2 separate regions of the Homo sapiens genome follow, and region 2 is linked to region 1. The links are contacts of gene promoters, found by promoter capture Hi-C in human tissues and cell types (Jung and others, 2019). All regions are on one chromosome and are shown on one strand. The core of a region is centred on a gene start or on the middle of the fragment in contact, and the rest is flanking DNA. Distances in the headings are between cores, read along the strand shown. Region 1 holds the start of ATP6V0A1 (ATPase H+ transporting V0 subunit a1). Region 2 overlaps STAT5A (signal transducer and activator of transcription 5A).

The links. The method cuts DNA at HindIII sites, captures the fragments that hold promoters and counts their contacts. A contact is called where the count stands out against the background at its distance.
Region 2: a fragment that was not itself captured here is called in contact with the fragment with the promoter of ATP6V0A1 in region 1 in 1 of the 25 tissues and cell types used here (mesenchymal stem cells).

The regions. Positions count from the first base shown.
Region 1 is chr17:42,455,863-42,463,168 of GRCh38, forward strand. ATP6V0A1 (ATPase H+ transporting V0 subunit a1) reads left to right here and starts at 3,016. Exons shown (of 22, transcript NM_001130021.3): 1 at 3,016-3,101; 2 at 4,986-5,149. The coding sequence starts at 5,033. RefSeq lists an enhancer at 2,636-2,725 and a silencer at 2,876-3,085. The HindIII fragment of the contact is 16,608 bases long and covers 1-7,306 here.
Region 2 is chr17:42,291,617-42,298,922 of GRCh38, forward strand. It overlaps STAT5A (signal transducer and activator of transcription 5A), which reads left to right. Exons shown (of 19, transcript NM_001288718.2): 4 at 356-445; 5 at 4,003-4,177. Among named protein-coding and RNA genes, the nearest start is that of STAT5A, 6.8 kb to the left of the region's middle. The HindIII fragment of the contact is 8,359 bases long and covers 1-7,306 here.

The sequences.
Region 1 (7,306 bases), core at 1,766-4,265:
CTTTTTGTGGTAGTGAAGAACTAATCTTTATAACTGTTTTTTTTTTTTTCAGACTCAGTTTTGCTCTTATTGCCCAGGTTGGAGGGCAATGGCGCGATCTTGGCCACTGCAACCACCGCCTCCTGGGTTCAAGTGGTTCTCCTGCCTTAGCCTCCTGAGTAGCTGGGATTATAGGCATGCACCACCATCCCCAGCTAATTTTTTGTATTTTTAGTAGAGATGAGTTTTCACCATGTTGGCCAGGCTGGTCTCAAACTCCCGACCTCAGGTAATCCACCCGCCTCAGCCTTCCAAAGTGCTGGGATTACAGGCGTGAGCCACCACACCTGGCTTTAATTGTTTTTTAGCCATTTTCACAAATGCTAGGGAATAGCTCGGTTTAGATACTCGGAACTGTGTCACTGGCCAAGCCTCATATGGAATTGCTCATGTCTTCTAGGGCTGTAGGTGTGGTCAACAGCATTTTAAATTTGATCTTATTGGACATATGCCTCAGTTTTACCATATCATCTGTTATATGGGGATAATAATAGTAACTGCCTCCTAATGTTGTTGTGAGGATTAAATGAGTTTGTATTTACCAAGCATGTAGAAAAGTGCCTGGCACATAGTAAGTATTAATCACTGCACTCCTCTCTCTCTTGCCATTTGGGAAGTTTCTTTCTCACTGAACCATGAGCTCTCCAAGGATAAGAAGCATGTCTGTTTCATTTTCTATCCCCAGCACCTAGTACCCCTCTCTGGCACACAGTAGGCCCTCAGCAAGCATCTGCTGCCTAAAAGGCACTATCAAGCAGGCAGTATGAAATTCCATTTCTGAGTCTTGAAGAAGGAAGTCAGGTGGAAAAACAGATAAGAGTCCTACACATAAACGTTTAAGCTTGACAACACTCAAGACCATCAAGGAAGACAGCATGGAGGGAAAATAAATAGAACACTGAGGAAAGATTGATGGCAGGAGATGGAAGCAAACAGAAAAGGAGTTCTGAAACAATATTCTTTCAAAGAAGCCGTGAAAAGAGTTCAAGGGAATTGAAGTAAGTCCACAGGAAAGGCTGTCTTAAAAGTGGAGTATGAAAAATTTGTGGTTAGCAAGCAGCTGACTGAGGTTAATTTTTTTTTAAGTCTCAGAGGAAGGAAATGATATTGTGTAACAGTTTTCTCTAACTTGGCAGGCTTTTAAATGTGGGTCCCGATCTGTCTTGCCAGAAGGGTTGAGAGCTAGGGAGCAGGGAGAAGGAGGGTATGGGTCTCTCCAAGACTCTGTGTCTTAAGAAGGTTGTATTGAAGTCAGGTTATATCTTCACTCACAATATGAGACAATAAATTCAAATAAAACGTCCATTTTTGTCCCCTTATTTTGTTTAGGCTGGTAAAGCAGGTTTGATGATGTTTTTGTCAGGTTGACAAAATTATCAGCAACAAGTTTTTATCTGGAATATCTCCCTCATTACACTTGAATTTCAACAGGGTTCCACCACCCAGGAAGACAGAATAACCGGTTTTCTGAGTTTTTCCTGATACAATTCTGGTTATCACAAACGACTTGAGATCCCTACTCTTCTTTAAAAGGGCAAGAAAAGGGAATCAATATCAATATTTGATAATGGCATTTAAAAAATAATAGACATCACTTTTGCGTTTAAAAAATGTTTTTCAATATTTAATTTACAAGTTGAGTACAAGCCATAAAAAATGTTTTTAAAATAAATTTGAGGAATTGAAAACTCCTAAGTGGTCAATTGAGCCCACATGAATCTACCAAACAAGACTGAAATGTACTTTCACAACATATGGTCTGATGAGGTTTTTCCTGTTAAACAGAGAAAAATAGACCCGGGGAAGTTGCTGGAAGGCATGAACCATGTACCATTTAAAGAGAGGTTTTCCATACTTATGCAAATGAGACCCCGTTAAAGACTCTACTACAGGATCTAAAGCTAGCCGCTCCCCAGTCTGGGGCTCAAATGTTCTCATCTGTAAAATAAGGGAAAAGAGAAAGGGTGGTATATGTGTCTGCGTATTAATTATTTGAGTGTGTGTGTGAATTCTTTGGATATGAAAATAAAGAGAGAAGACATTAATTATTTGGGTGCGTATGTGTGAATTAATTCTTTGGATATGAAAATAAAGAGAGGGCCGGGCGCGGTGGCTCACACCTGTAATCCCAGCACTTTGGGAGGCCGAGGCGGGTGGAGGCCAGGACCAGTCTGGGCAACATGGCGAAACCCCATCTCTACAAAAAATACAAAAATAGCCGGGTGGCGTGGTGCGTGCCTGTAATCTCAGCTACTAGGGAGGCTGAGGCAGGAGAATCCCCTGAACCCGGGAGGCGGAGGCTGCAGTGAGCCGAGAACGCGCCACTGCATTCCCGCCTGGGAAACAGACCATCTAAAAAAAAAAAAAAAAAAAAAAAAAAAAGGCCGGGCGTGGTGGCTCACGCTTGTAATCCCAACACTTTGGGAGGCCGAGGCGGGTGGATCACGAGGTCAGAATTCGAGACTCAGCCTGGCCAACATAGTGAAACCCCGTCTCTACTTAAAAAAAAAAAAAATACAAAAATTAGCCGGGCATGGTGGTGCGTGCCTGTAGTCCCAGCTACTTGGGAGGCTGAGGCAGGAGAATCGCTTGAACCCGGGAGGTGGAGGTTGCAGTGGGCCGAGATCACGCCACTGCACTCCTGCTTGAGCAACAGAATGAGACTTCAAAAAAAAAAAAAGAAAGAGAAAAGACAACCTACCCCAGTATAAGGGGTAAGAAAAAGGATTCAGGGAGGCTCAGGAACTTAAGGCCTCGAGCACCTGCACCTCCAGCCCCACCCGCTAACCCTCCCCAGCGTGGAGATACAGCACAGGGGCCAACATGGCGTCAGCACGCTGGGTCTCGCCTGCGACCCCCGTGACTCCGCACTGCTGCAGCCCGGGCGAGGCTGCGCCCCATTGGCCAACTGCAATGAGGTCATTGCGGGGGCGGGGGCCGGCGGCGGCGCAGGGGCGGGGCTTTACGGACGCAAGCACGTCGAAGCGCTGCTCCTGGAGCCGCGGAGGGTGCGGGTTTGGCTGCGGTGGTTTCTGTGGCGGTTGCTGTGGCGGAGTTTGGAGGTGAGTGGGGGCTGTAGGTTTAGCGCAACAGGGAGCGGCCCTCGATGGACGTAGGAAATCCTTCTAAGAGCCCCCTTGATTGTCAGAGGAATTAGCGGGGATCTGACGTCTTCGAGATAAAATGGGGGTTCGCCCCCTCCTTGGGCACCCCTCCTCTGCCCTGAGGAACCGGAGGCTCACTGCCCTTTGGAAGCCCCGCATCTCTTCCCTGCTTTAAGGGGTAGGCGGAGGAACCGGAGGTTATTGGATAGGCAGAAGAATTTAGGGGGCTTCTTAAAGGGTTTCTCAGTTTGGGGGTTTTCCTCTCCTTTTTTCCCATCTCAAGGTAGATGAGCCTGAGTCCAGAGAATTCCTGCTCATTGGGTAGACAGGAAATGAAGCAGGTGAATACCGTGGGAGGAGGCGAGGACCGGATGACAGGAGTGAGATTCTTCTAGGCAGGGCGCGGGGGCGCTGTAGTTGGACTCATCTTTTGCAGAATTGCTGTTTCTTCATATTTTGTTTTGTGATCGTCCAGAACTACTTTGGCCTAATTAGTTTTCTGTTAGCCTCCATTGCTATAGAGATATTCTTGGGAGACCTATAATCATTAAAGAGCAGGAGGACGGAGGCGACTCGTTGGAGGCTTATCATTATCCACAGCTCCTGAACTATGCTGACCAGGCCTAATTTTATGTGTTTAGAGGTTGTAGAATCTCTCTTTGTTTAAGGGTGGTGCCGGTAACAGCTGATTTGGATGATTCAGATGTACAGAATCTTAAAGTCAGCCTGCATATTCTCTTGAGAAGTCCTTGCTTATGTCTGAGCTTGTGTTACTGTCTTGAACATCACATGCACAAAGGTTTGTTCGTTCAGATTTCTCAAAATGTCTCCCAGCCTTCCAGAAGAGTAAATCTTCCTTTGATGTCAGACTCATCTATCAGTACTCAGTATAGATGCCCTTATGACACTAAAAATACTGTGCATTTTTCTGAGTTTGGATACTGGACAGGCTGTGCCTTACATTAGCTGATCGAGAATAAATAATTGCAGTTTCAGGACCACTGATAGCGCCAGTTGTCTCATACCCGGCAACAGTAAGACAGCACTAAAACGAAACCTTTATTGGCTCATGAGATTTGACAGATGGAAGAATGTAATTAATCTTGAAGGTAGGGTTGAGAAACAGAAAGCTGCAGAGGTGGAAGGCTTATTCTCTGTGGCTTGATAAAACTGCTTTGTCATTATCAGTGTGTTCCTGTCATGCTTGATTTGAAATTGAGCTTAATATGCAAACTGGTTGCTTTTTCCAGATGACGGTTATTTGTTTGAATTCCTAAGTGGGGAAATATTGTTTTCTGAGGAATCTGGAAGATTAAACCCTTTAGTGTAGCCATAGCTTTAGGATAGTGCCAGAACTTTGGGCTTTTAGAAATGCGCATTGTCAGTAGAAGGGAGAAGGATAGTTACAAGGCAGACATCTTTATGAGAGGGTATTGAAGGCCTCTTCTGTTTGTTTCCTGCACTAGCAAAAACAGATTGAGCAGTGTGAAACTCACTGCCTCAATATTGTGTCCTGGGTATTTAAAGAGTTGTTTGAGGTTCCCAGTTCCTGTCTTTAATCTGGATACATTCTTATCAGTTGAGTTGCCCAAAATAATTGTCATTTGATCCTGATGTTGACTGGAATGGAAGTGACTTTTCATCTGACACTCTGTGGGACAGAATTCAGGAACTGCCTTTGCAATTTCTCCTTTCCATCTTTCTAGACAGGGTGTCAAAAACAGTTGTTGACCTGTCCTCATGGGGTGTTAGAAATGTAAATGCAAGAGCCGTAGTGGGGTGTCATTTGCTCTTAGCCCTCGTGGTAATTTCCAAAGTTATGTCATTTTCTCTTTGCTTCAGGTTGGAGAGAAATCCAGGTACTCACTAGACTGGTACCTTCTGCCACCATGGGGGAGCTTTTCCGGAGTGAAGAAATGACACTGGCCCAGCTTTTTCTACAGTCAGAGGCTGCTTATTGTTGTGTCAGTGAATTAGGAGAACTTGGAAAGGTTCAGTTTCGTGACGTAAGTAGTTGTGGGGCTGCGACTTGATTACTGCTGAACTCTATTGCTATCGTGGTCAGATGCCTTATGATGAATGTTTTGTTTTTTATTTGCAAAAATAACATTATAGCACTGACTTCCTATTGGCAGAATGCACATTTTGAGTTGTCTTTCTAAAGGTGAGAATGTTTTGTGCCAATCTTTACATGCTTTTGCTAGCTCCCACTTTCAGAACAGTCCTAAGCATTCTCCAGGTAATTGTTTGGGATGCAGGGAGAGGTTACCAAACTAACCTGATCAAGGCTTTCACTTGCTAAATAGCAAGGTATTTAAAAAAATATATTGCAGTTTTTCCATATAGTAGGACATTTTAAAAAAAATAAAATTTGAGGTATCCAGCTACAGATATATAGTATATAAATAAGCATATACTGAATATTCATTATTTTGGAATATTATACTGGGCACTTGGAGAAGCTATCTAAAGAATATGGACAATCTAGCCTGGGTACAGTGGCTCACGCCTATAATCCTAACACTTTGGGAGGCTGAGGCGGGCGGATCGGGAGGTCAGGAGTTTGAGATCAGTCTGGCCAACATGGTGAAACCCCGACTCTACTAAAAATACAAAAAAAATTAGCATGGTGGCGCAGGCCTGTAATCCCAGCCACTCGGGAGGCCGAGGCAGGAGAATCGCCTGAACCTGGGAGGCGGAGGTTGCAGTGAGCCGAGATTGTGTGATTGCACGCAGCCTGGGCGACAGAGCAAGACTCCGTCTCAAACAACAACAACAACAACAAAAAACTTGTCATCCTTAATTTGCAGTTCTTCATCTGGTCCTATGTTGTCCCTCTGCTTAACATCTATTGGCTCTATTCAGCCTTCTTTTCTTTTACTTATGCTGTACTTCAGTCATACAAAAAAAAGAGATAGGGGCCAGGTGCAATGGCTCACACCTGAAATGCCAGTACTTTGAGAGGCCAAGGCAGGAGGATCGCTTGAGCCCAGGAGTTGGAGACCAGTCTGGGCAACATAGGGAGATCCCGTCTCTGCCAAAAAAAAAAAAAAAAAAAAAAATGCCGGATGTGGTGGCACATGGCTGTGGTCCCAGCTGCTTGGGAAGCTAAGGTGGGAGGATCGCTGAAGCCCAGGAGGTCGAGGCTGTAGTGAGCTGTGATTATGCCACTGCACTCCAGCCTGGGTGACAGAGCATGACACTGTCTCAAAACCAAAAAAAAAAAAAGAGGTGGGGGGAGTATTATAATGACCACCTATGTTTCTACTATCTGCTTAAGAGGGAAACATTCCGTGTATAATTGAAACCTCTGTTTCTCTTTGCTCCATGCCAGTCCTTTCTTCCACCCCAGAGGTAACCCGTACAGTGATTTGTTTTGCTTTTATTTCTCCTATGTGTGGTTTTTGTTGTTGTTGTTGTTGCTTTTCTTTTTGAGACAGAGTCCACTCTGTCGCCCAGGCTGGAGTGCAGTGGTGTGATCTCAGCTCATTGCAGCCTCCGCCTCCCAGGTTCAAGCAATTCTCCTGCCTCAGCCTCCTGAGTAGCTGGGACTAAAGGCATGCACCACCATGCCCAGCTAATTTTTGTATTTTTAGTAGAGACGGGGTTTCACCACATTGGCCAGGCTGGTCTCGAACTTCTGACCTCTGGTGATCCACCCGCCTCGGCCTCCCAAAGTGCTGGGATTACAGGCATGAGCCACCATACCTGGCCAACAGATATTTCAGTTTCTTCTAGTTCTGTTAATTTTTTTTTAATAATAAAATTTATAACATTAAGAAAAAAAATAGAGATGGGGGTCTCGCCATGTTACCCAGGTTGGTCTTGAACTCCTGGACTCAAGCGGTTCTCCTGCCTCAGCCTCCCAAAGTGCTAGGATTACCGGTGTGAGCCACTGTGCCTGGCTGAAATGTACACATCTTAAGAGTACAATTTGCTGAATTGATAACTTTATACACCTCTGTAACCAGCACCCCAATCAGGATATGGAACTTTTTTTTTTTTTTTTTTTTTTTTGGAGACAGAATCTTGCTCTGTCGCCCAGGCTGGAGTGTAGTGGTGCGATCTTGGCTCACTGCAACCTCCGTCTCCTGGGTTCAAGCAATCCTCCCTCAGCCTCCTGAGTAGCTGGGACTACAGGCGCACACCGCCGAGCCCGGCTA
Region 2 (7,306 bases), core at 2,500-4,999, 160 kb before region 1:
GAGGAAGGAGAATCGCTTGAACCCGGGAGGTGGAGGTTGCAGTGAGCTGAGATCACACCATTGCACCTTTAGCCTAGGCAACAAGAGCAAAACTCCATCTCAAAAAGAAAAAAAAAAAAAAGAGAAAGTGCCTCATAAACTGTGGGTTTTTAATTCGCTCCAAACCAGATATGAAGATCTTGGAGGGGAAGATGAGGATGAGGAACAGAGATATAGAGGTGTCTGGGGATAGTTCCTGAGGCTCCCTGGGAAAAGCTGAGGCAGAGGCTGAAGGAGAGGAAGGGCTGGGCATAGCATGGGGCTGGCATGGCTGGAGCAGAGGATGGCGCTGGAGGCTACTGTTGGATTCTTTCAGAAAACATATGACCGCTGCCCCCTGGAGCTGGTCCGCTGCATCCGGCACATTCTGTACAATGAACAGAGGCTGGTCCGAGAAGCCAACAATGTGAGTGTCCCTTGGGGATGGGGAGGAGTGTTGAGAAGTCCCTCCATATGCCTTTCTCTCCAGAAACAACTGTGTTTATATAAAACAGCAGCACGAGGAGAGCACCAAGAAGATGAGGGACGTGGGCAAGTGTAAGAGGTGGCAGCATTGCACGCCGGGGTGGAGTGACCCCCTGGATCCAGTCCCTGGCTCTACCACTTACTAGCTGTGTGACTTGAGCAAGTTGCTTAATCTCTCTGAGCCTCTGTTCCTGTTTTTTTTTCTTTTTTCTTTTTTCTTTTTTTTGAGACGGATTCTTGCTCTGTCACCCAGGCTGCAGTGCAGTGGCGTGATCTCGGCTCACTGCAAGCTCTGCCTTCCAGGTTCACACCATTCTCCTGCCTCAGCCTCCCGAGTAGCTGGGGCTACAGGCGCCCACCACCATGCCCGGTTAATTTTTTGTATTTTTAGCAGAGATGGGGTTTCACTGTGTTAGCCAGGATGGTCTCAACCTGACCTCGTGATCCGCCCACCTCGGCCTCCCAAAGTACTGGGGTTACAGGCGTGAGCCACCACGCTTGGCGCCTACTGTTTTTTCCCCCCCGAGATGCAGTCTTGCTCTGTTGCCCAGGCTGGAGTGCAGTGATGTGATCTCTGCTCACTGCAACCTCTGCCTCCCAGGTTCAAGCAATTCTCTTGCCTCAGCCTCCCGAGTAGCTGGGATTACAGGTGCCCACCACCATGCCCGGCTAATTTTTTTTGTATTTTTAGTAGAGACGTGGTTTCACTATGTTGGCCAGGCTGGTCTTGAACTCCTGACCTCATGATCCACCCGCCTCGGCCTCCCAAAGTGTTGGGATTACAGGCGTGAGCCACCGTGCCCGGCCTGTTCCTACTCTTGTAAAATGGAGATAGCAATCATACCTATCTGTGTCAGAAGAACTAACACAGGCAGGCTCAGAGAAGTGAGGCCCAGGGAGGGGTAACAGGGACACATCTCCCCAGTTCTGAAATAATAAAGGCACTGGGCATCTACATGGACAATGGCACAGTGCTGTACTATCTGCAATAGAGCAAAATGAATTTCACAACATGACGTGACAGAAATCTTAGAACAGTGACCGGAGCACAGGTCATATTTATTATTTCTTTCTTTATTTGTTTGTTTGTTTATTTATTTTTGAGACTGAGTCTCACTCTATCATCTAGGCTGGAGTGCAGTGGCGTGATCTCGGCTCACTGCAACCTCCACCCCTTGGGTTCAAGAGATTCTCATGCCTCAGCCTCCCAAGTAGCTAGGATTACAGGGGCCCACCACCATGCCCGGCTAATTTTTGTATTTTTAGTAGAGACAGGGTTTCACCCTGTTGGCCAGGCTGGTCTCGAATTCCTGACTTCAAGTGATCCACCTGCCTCGGCCTCCCGAAGTGCTGGGATTACAGGCATGAGCCACCACGCCCGGCCTATTACGTATTTATTGTTGTGGACATGGATTTCAGGATTTACTCAGTAGACATTTATTGAGGTCTTACTGTGTGTCCGATGCTGGGCTATCATCAGAGAAACACATAAAGGCCTGGTTCTTGCCTGGAAGGAATTCTGGCAGTGATGGATTCTCTAGAGATGAGCTGAGTGCTAAGGGGGCCTAGGTGGAAAAAGCACCCAACTCAGATTGGGGCAGGCTGGCAGGGGAGCGTCCTGTGGACAGGCATGTCTGAGCTACAGTGGAGAAAGGCAGGAGAGGAGGGATGAATTTTCTAATGAAAAGACAGCAGCTGCGAGAGCAGGAGGGCATGAATCTTCTTATCACATTGGAAGACTTGTAAGTGGTCAGTGTAACTGGGGAGAAGGAACCAAGTGGGGAGTTGCCATGGATAAAAATAGATAGAGAGGGCCAGGCGTGGTGGCTCACATCTGTAATCCCAGCACTTTGGGAGGCCAAGGTGGGCGGATCACCTGACGTCAGAAGTTCGAGACCAGCCTGGCCAACATGGTGAAACCCAGTCTCTACTAAAAAATACAAAAATTAGCTAGGCGTGGTGGCGGGCGCCTGTAATCCTAGCTACTCGGGCGGCTGAGGCAGGAGAATTGCTTGAACCCAGGAGGGGGATGTTGCAGTGAGCTGAGATTGCACCACTTCACTCCAGCCTGGGCAACAGAGCGAGACTCTGTATAAAAAAAAAAAAAATAGGGGTTAGAAACCAGGTCACAAAGGGTCTTCCAGCACAGCCCCTGTGTCCCTGACTTGTTGCCATCACAGAGCTATCTGCAAACCTAAAAATGACTTCAGCCTCATTGACAAATCCATGTCCATGGTGCTGGTGCTGTCATGGTCTGGGAGCTCATTCCTTCCTCCAACCATACAACTGTTCCTGAACACCCCTGGCATTCTAGGGCTTGGGGATTCTGTAGTTCACAGGAAAGGCAAGGTCCTAGCCCTTGGGAACCTCACATCCTTGTGCAGGGAGACAGACAGAAACATGTAAGCAAATACAAGAACAACACACTTTTAGATAGGACTACTGTGAATTGGCTCGTCAGAGATGACCCCTCTGCAATGGTACCAGTTAAAGTGCTTTGCCTCAGGAGGATCTGATGCCAGAATGTTCCAGACTGTTGGAACAATAAGTGCAAGGGCCCCAGGGCAGGAACATGCCTGTGTGTTCAAGGAACAGAAACAGAAAGCACACATTCCCAGCGAGCTGGGGTTGGAGGTAGGCAGGGCTATGGCCAGCAGACACCATGGGAAGGGGTTTGGATTTTATTCTGAGAACAGTTCATTGGAAAGCCTCTGAGGACTTGTTCCTCTTCATCCATGTGCTCCCTCCCTTTGTGACCTGGTTTCTACCCCTCTCTCTCTATTTTTTTTTTTTTTGAAACGGAGTCTCGCTGTGTTGCCAAGGCTAGAGTGCAGTGGCGCAATCTCGGCTCACTGCAACATCCCCCTCCTGGGTTCAAGCGATTCTCCTGAATGTGCTGAAGGAATGGCTGGATCCAAGGGGAGCTTGTTGATGCCTCCCCTCTAACTTCATTTCGGGGTCTCCAGGATGCCTGTGAGAGTTTCGGCCTCTTCCCTCTTCCTTCAGTCACAAGGGGGTCTTAAGTGAGATGGTGTGTGTTCACACAGCCCTGTTCCTCCCTATGTCCCTAGGATCTACTGCAGTCCATGGTATTGAGTCAGCAAATAAATGTAGAGCGAGGGGTCATCATCATTAGTGGGAAAACCCAGGTGACACCTGGGACGTGTTGAGTTCTAGTCCCTGGGAGGAAATTAGATGGACCCTGTTTGGAATACTCTAGTGGAGGGCAGCTCTGACATAGATATTTGGACTTTGAAGGTGTTACTATCTGCCGTTATCTGCCAGGTCACCTGTTTCTCCTTTCTCTTTCCCTTTTCTATCCCAATTCTGGCAAATGACTCCTTCTGATGCAAATGATCCTTCCTTCTTGCCCTAGTTTCCCTTCTTACCCTAGTTTGGGGTTTGGGGTTTGGGGTCTGTAGTATTGGTGTTTCCTAATGCCTGTGGTCTTCTCCCATCCTCTCTTCCCCGAGTTATTTCCATTCCATCTGTCTCCAGTGCAGCTCTCCGGCTGGGATCCTGGTTGACGCCATGTCCCAGAAGCACCTTCAGATCAACCAGACATTTGAGGAGCTGCGACTGGTCACGCAGGACACAGAGAATGAGCTGAAGAAACTGCAGCAGACTCAGGAGTACTTCATCATCCAGTACCAGGAGAGCCTGAGGATCCAAGGTGAGGCGCGGTGGAGGCAGTGTGCATCCGGAGGGTGGGAGTGAGGAACATTCTATGGACTCCTAGAGGGTAGAGCTGGGTCAGTGTCCATCTCCTCAGCACTTTGCCCAAAGCCTGGTAGAAGCAATGGCTCCCGGTGATTGAGCCCCTGCCGTGGGTCACACTTGGCACACATTATTTAATTCAACCCTCTCAACAAGCCTATGAAGTGAACAGTTGTGTTATCCCCCCTTTTGCAGATGGTAAAAGTGAGGTTCAAAGAGAACAAGTAACTTGGCCTAGGTTGCCTGTAAATTACAGAACTGGATCTCAACTAGAGATATATCATAAAACTCCTGTACTTTATTAACCAGTATTCTCTCCTTAATGGTATGTATTCTGTAAATATCGACACAAATAGGTAAATATGAACAGTGCTCCCTAACCAGAGGGAGGACTTGGATTGGAAGTCTTCTGGTTGAACCAGGCTGGGAGAGGTGGAACTTCCAAAGTGGGCCTTCTTGAGCCTCACGGATAGGATGTGGGCCTGGGGGAAGGGGTGACAGTAGAAAATTCTCCTGTATCCTAGGTCTGTAGTTCGCCAATGGCTCCCATGATAAAGATGTGGGGAAATTAAAAAATCAAATTAGCTTGAAAGGAACTATCCCCAGGTACAATTTGAGGAGTCATGGGACATGGCCCATCTATTAATATGTCCCATTCCAGACTGACCCCAGAAATGTAACACCTCATCTTAGTGAGAACAAGGGGTGTCAAACTGCTTTTTCCTTTACTCTTTTTAATCTGATTTCTTAAGGTAGACCTTAGGTCATTGATTTTAGACCTTTCTTCTTTTCTTTTCTTTCTTTTTCTTTTCTTTTTTTTGAGACAATCTTGCTCTGTCGCCCAGGCTGGAGCACAGTGGCATGATTTCGGCTCACTGCAGCCTCTGCTTCCCAGCTTCAAGAAATTCTTGTGCCTCAGTCTCCCGCATAGCTGGGACTACAGGTGCAGGCCACCACGCCCAGCTGATTTTTTTAGAATTCTATTGTAGCTATTTAAGCTCTCTTCCTAACCCTGCACTGTCAGTGCTTTGTGTACACTGAGACCAGCACAATGCCTGAATATTGCAGCTATTATGTAAATACTTGCAGGATAATTCTAAATGTTTGTTTGTTTGTTTGTTTATTTATTATTGCCCAGGCTGGAGTGCAGTGGCACGATCTCATCTCACTGCGACCTCTGCCTCTCAGGTTCAAACTATTCTCATGCCTCAGCCTCCTCAGTAGCTGGGACTACAGACATGCACCACCATGCCTGGCTAATTTTTTTTTTTTGTAGTTTTAGTAGATACAGGGTTGTGCCGTGTTGTCCAGGCTGGTTGCAACCTCTAGCCTCGAGTGATCTGCCTGCCTCGGCCTCCCAAAGTGCTAGGATTATAGGCGTGAGCCACGGTGCCCAGCCAATACTGACAGGATAATTCTAAGAGAATTTCCCCTCATCTGAATCTATCCCAGACTGGCCCTAGAAGAAGGGCAGCTCCTTCTGAGAATGGAAACGGAAGATTTTGGGCGGTTATTCCTACCCAAGTCCTTAGACTGTCGACAGTATTTCTGATCCCGTGCCTGGCTTTTCTGTTTCCTGTGCATGGTGGCGGATTAGGTTTGGATTCAGGTTGGGTTTGGATCTATCATGCAGTGTCTTCTCAGTCCCATTTGTCAAGTTCACTCAGCAGAAACACAGACTATTGATCTGCTTTTGCCAGGGAAGGCTCAGCTGCCTCCAGTGGAGTAGGGAAATTGCTTCCCGTCTCCCTGGCCTCCTTCCTAAAAGCTTCTGCAAATTTCCAGGAGAGCCCTAAGTGGGTCCCTTGCATAGGAAGGCTGGGCCCAGGTGTTGGGATCACCACCACCCTCCCTGTGGCTGGGCAGGATACCCGAGGTAGCCGTGCAGACACCTCGGATCTGTCCGTGCCTGGATGATCCTCTTCCTGCTCGATACCTGCAGTGAGATTGGAGCCATATTTCTGAGTTCTAGCTCTGGGCTGTTCCTGGCTACATAGAGTTGCTTTTGTCTGTCCCAGCTTGTGCATCCCATGGGTCAGGGCTGGGGTCAGAGTGACGTGGCCCTCAGGGGCCAGCCAGGAGCTCGACCAAGACATGCTGGTGCGCGCATCTTCTGACTCAGCTCAAGCAAGGACGCTGGGCTGTTGAGAAGGTGATGGGAAGGGATTAATAGTCCCAGTGTGGTGGAGACGGGCTGTCGCTGGGAGGGTGGGGTGGGCCTGCGGTGGTGGTTGTAACTGTGGACATGTTTACTTTCTTAGCCTGGGTTATTGATACACAGGCGCCCTTGTGTTCCACATCCCCTGTGTCTTACGTATTTCATAATGGATACTTTTTTTTTTTTGAGATGGAGTCTTGCTCTGTTGCCTTGGCTGGAGTGCAGTGGTGCTCTCGGCTCACTGCAACCTTTAACCCCGGGTTCAAGCAATTCTCCTGCCTCAGCCTCCTAAGTAGCTGGGATTACAGGCATGCGCCACCATGCCCAGCTAATTTTTGTATTTTTAGTAGAGACAGGGTCTTGCCATGTTGGCCAGGCTGGTCTCGAACTCTTGACCTCAAGTGATCTGCCTGTCTCAGCCTCCCAAAGTGCTGGGATTACAGGCGTAAGCCACCGAGCCTGGCACATGATGGATACTTTTTTTTTTTTTTTTTTAGACAGAGTCTAGCTCTGTCGCCCAGGCTGGAGTGCAGTGGCCCAATCTCGGCTCACTGCAAGCTCCACCTTCTGGGTTCACGCCATTCTCCTGCCTCAGCCTCCCTAGTAGCTGGAACTACAGGCACCCGCCACCATGCCCGGCTAATTTTTTGTGTTTTTAGTAGAGATGGGGTTTCACTGTGTTAGCCAGGATGGTCTCTAGCCAGGATGGTCTCGATCACCTGACCTCGTGATCTGCCCGCCTCAGTCTCCCAAAGTGCTGGGATTACAGGCGTGAGCCACTGCGCCCAGCCCCATGATGGATACTTTTTAAAAGCTAGTGAGGCCTGACTTATTCCCTGTCCCGCCATCAATGAGACTCCTCACAGATGGTGTGGAGGGAAGCCGCCTCCCTTCGGCCTCCCTTTCCTGAGAGAATCTTGGTGGCTC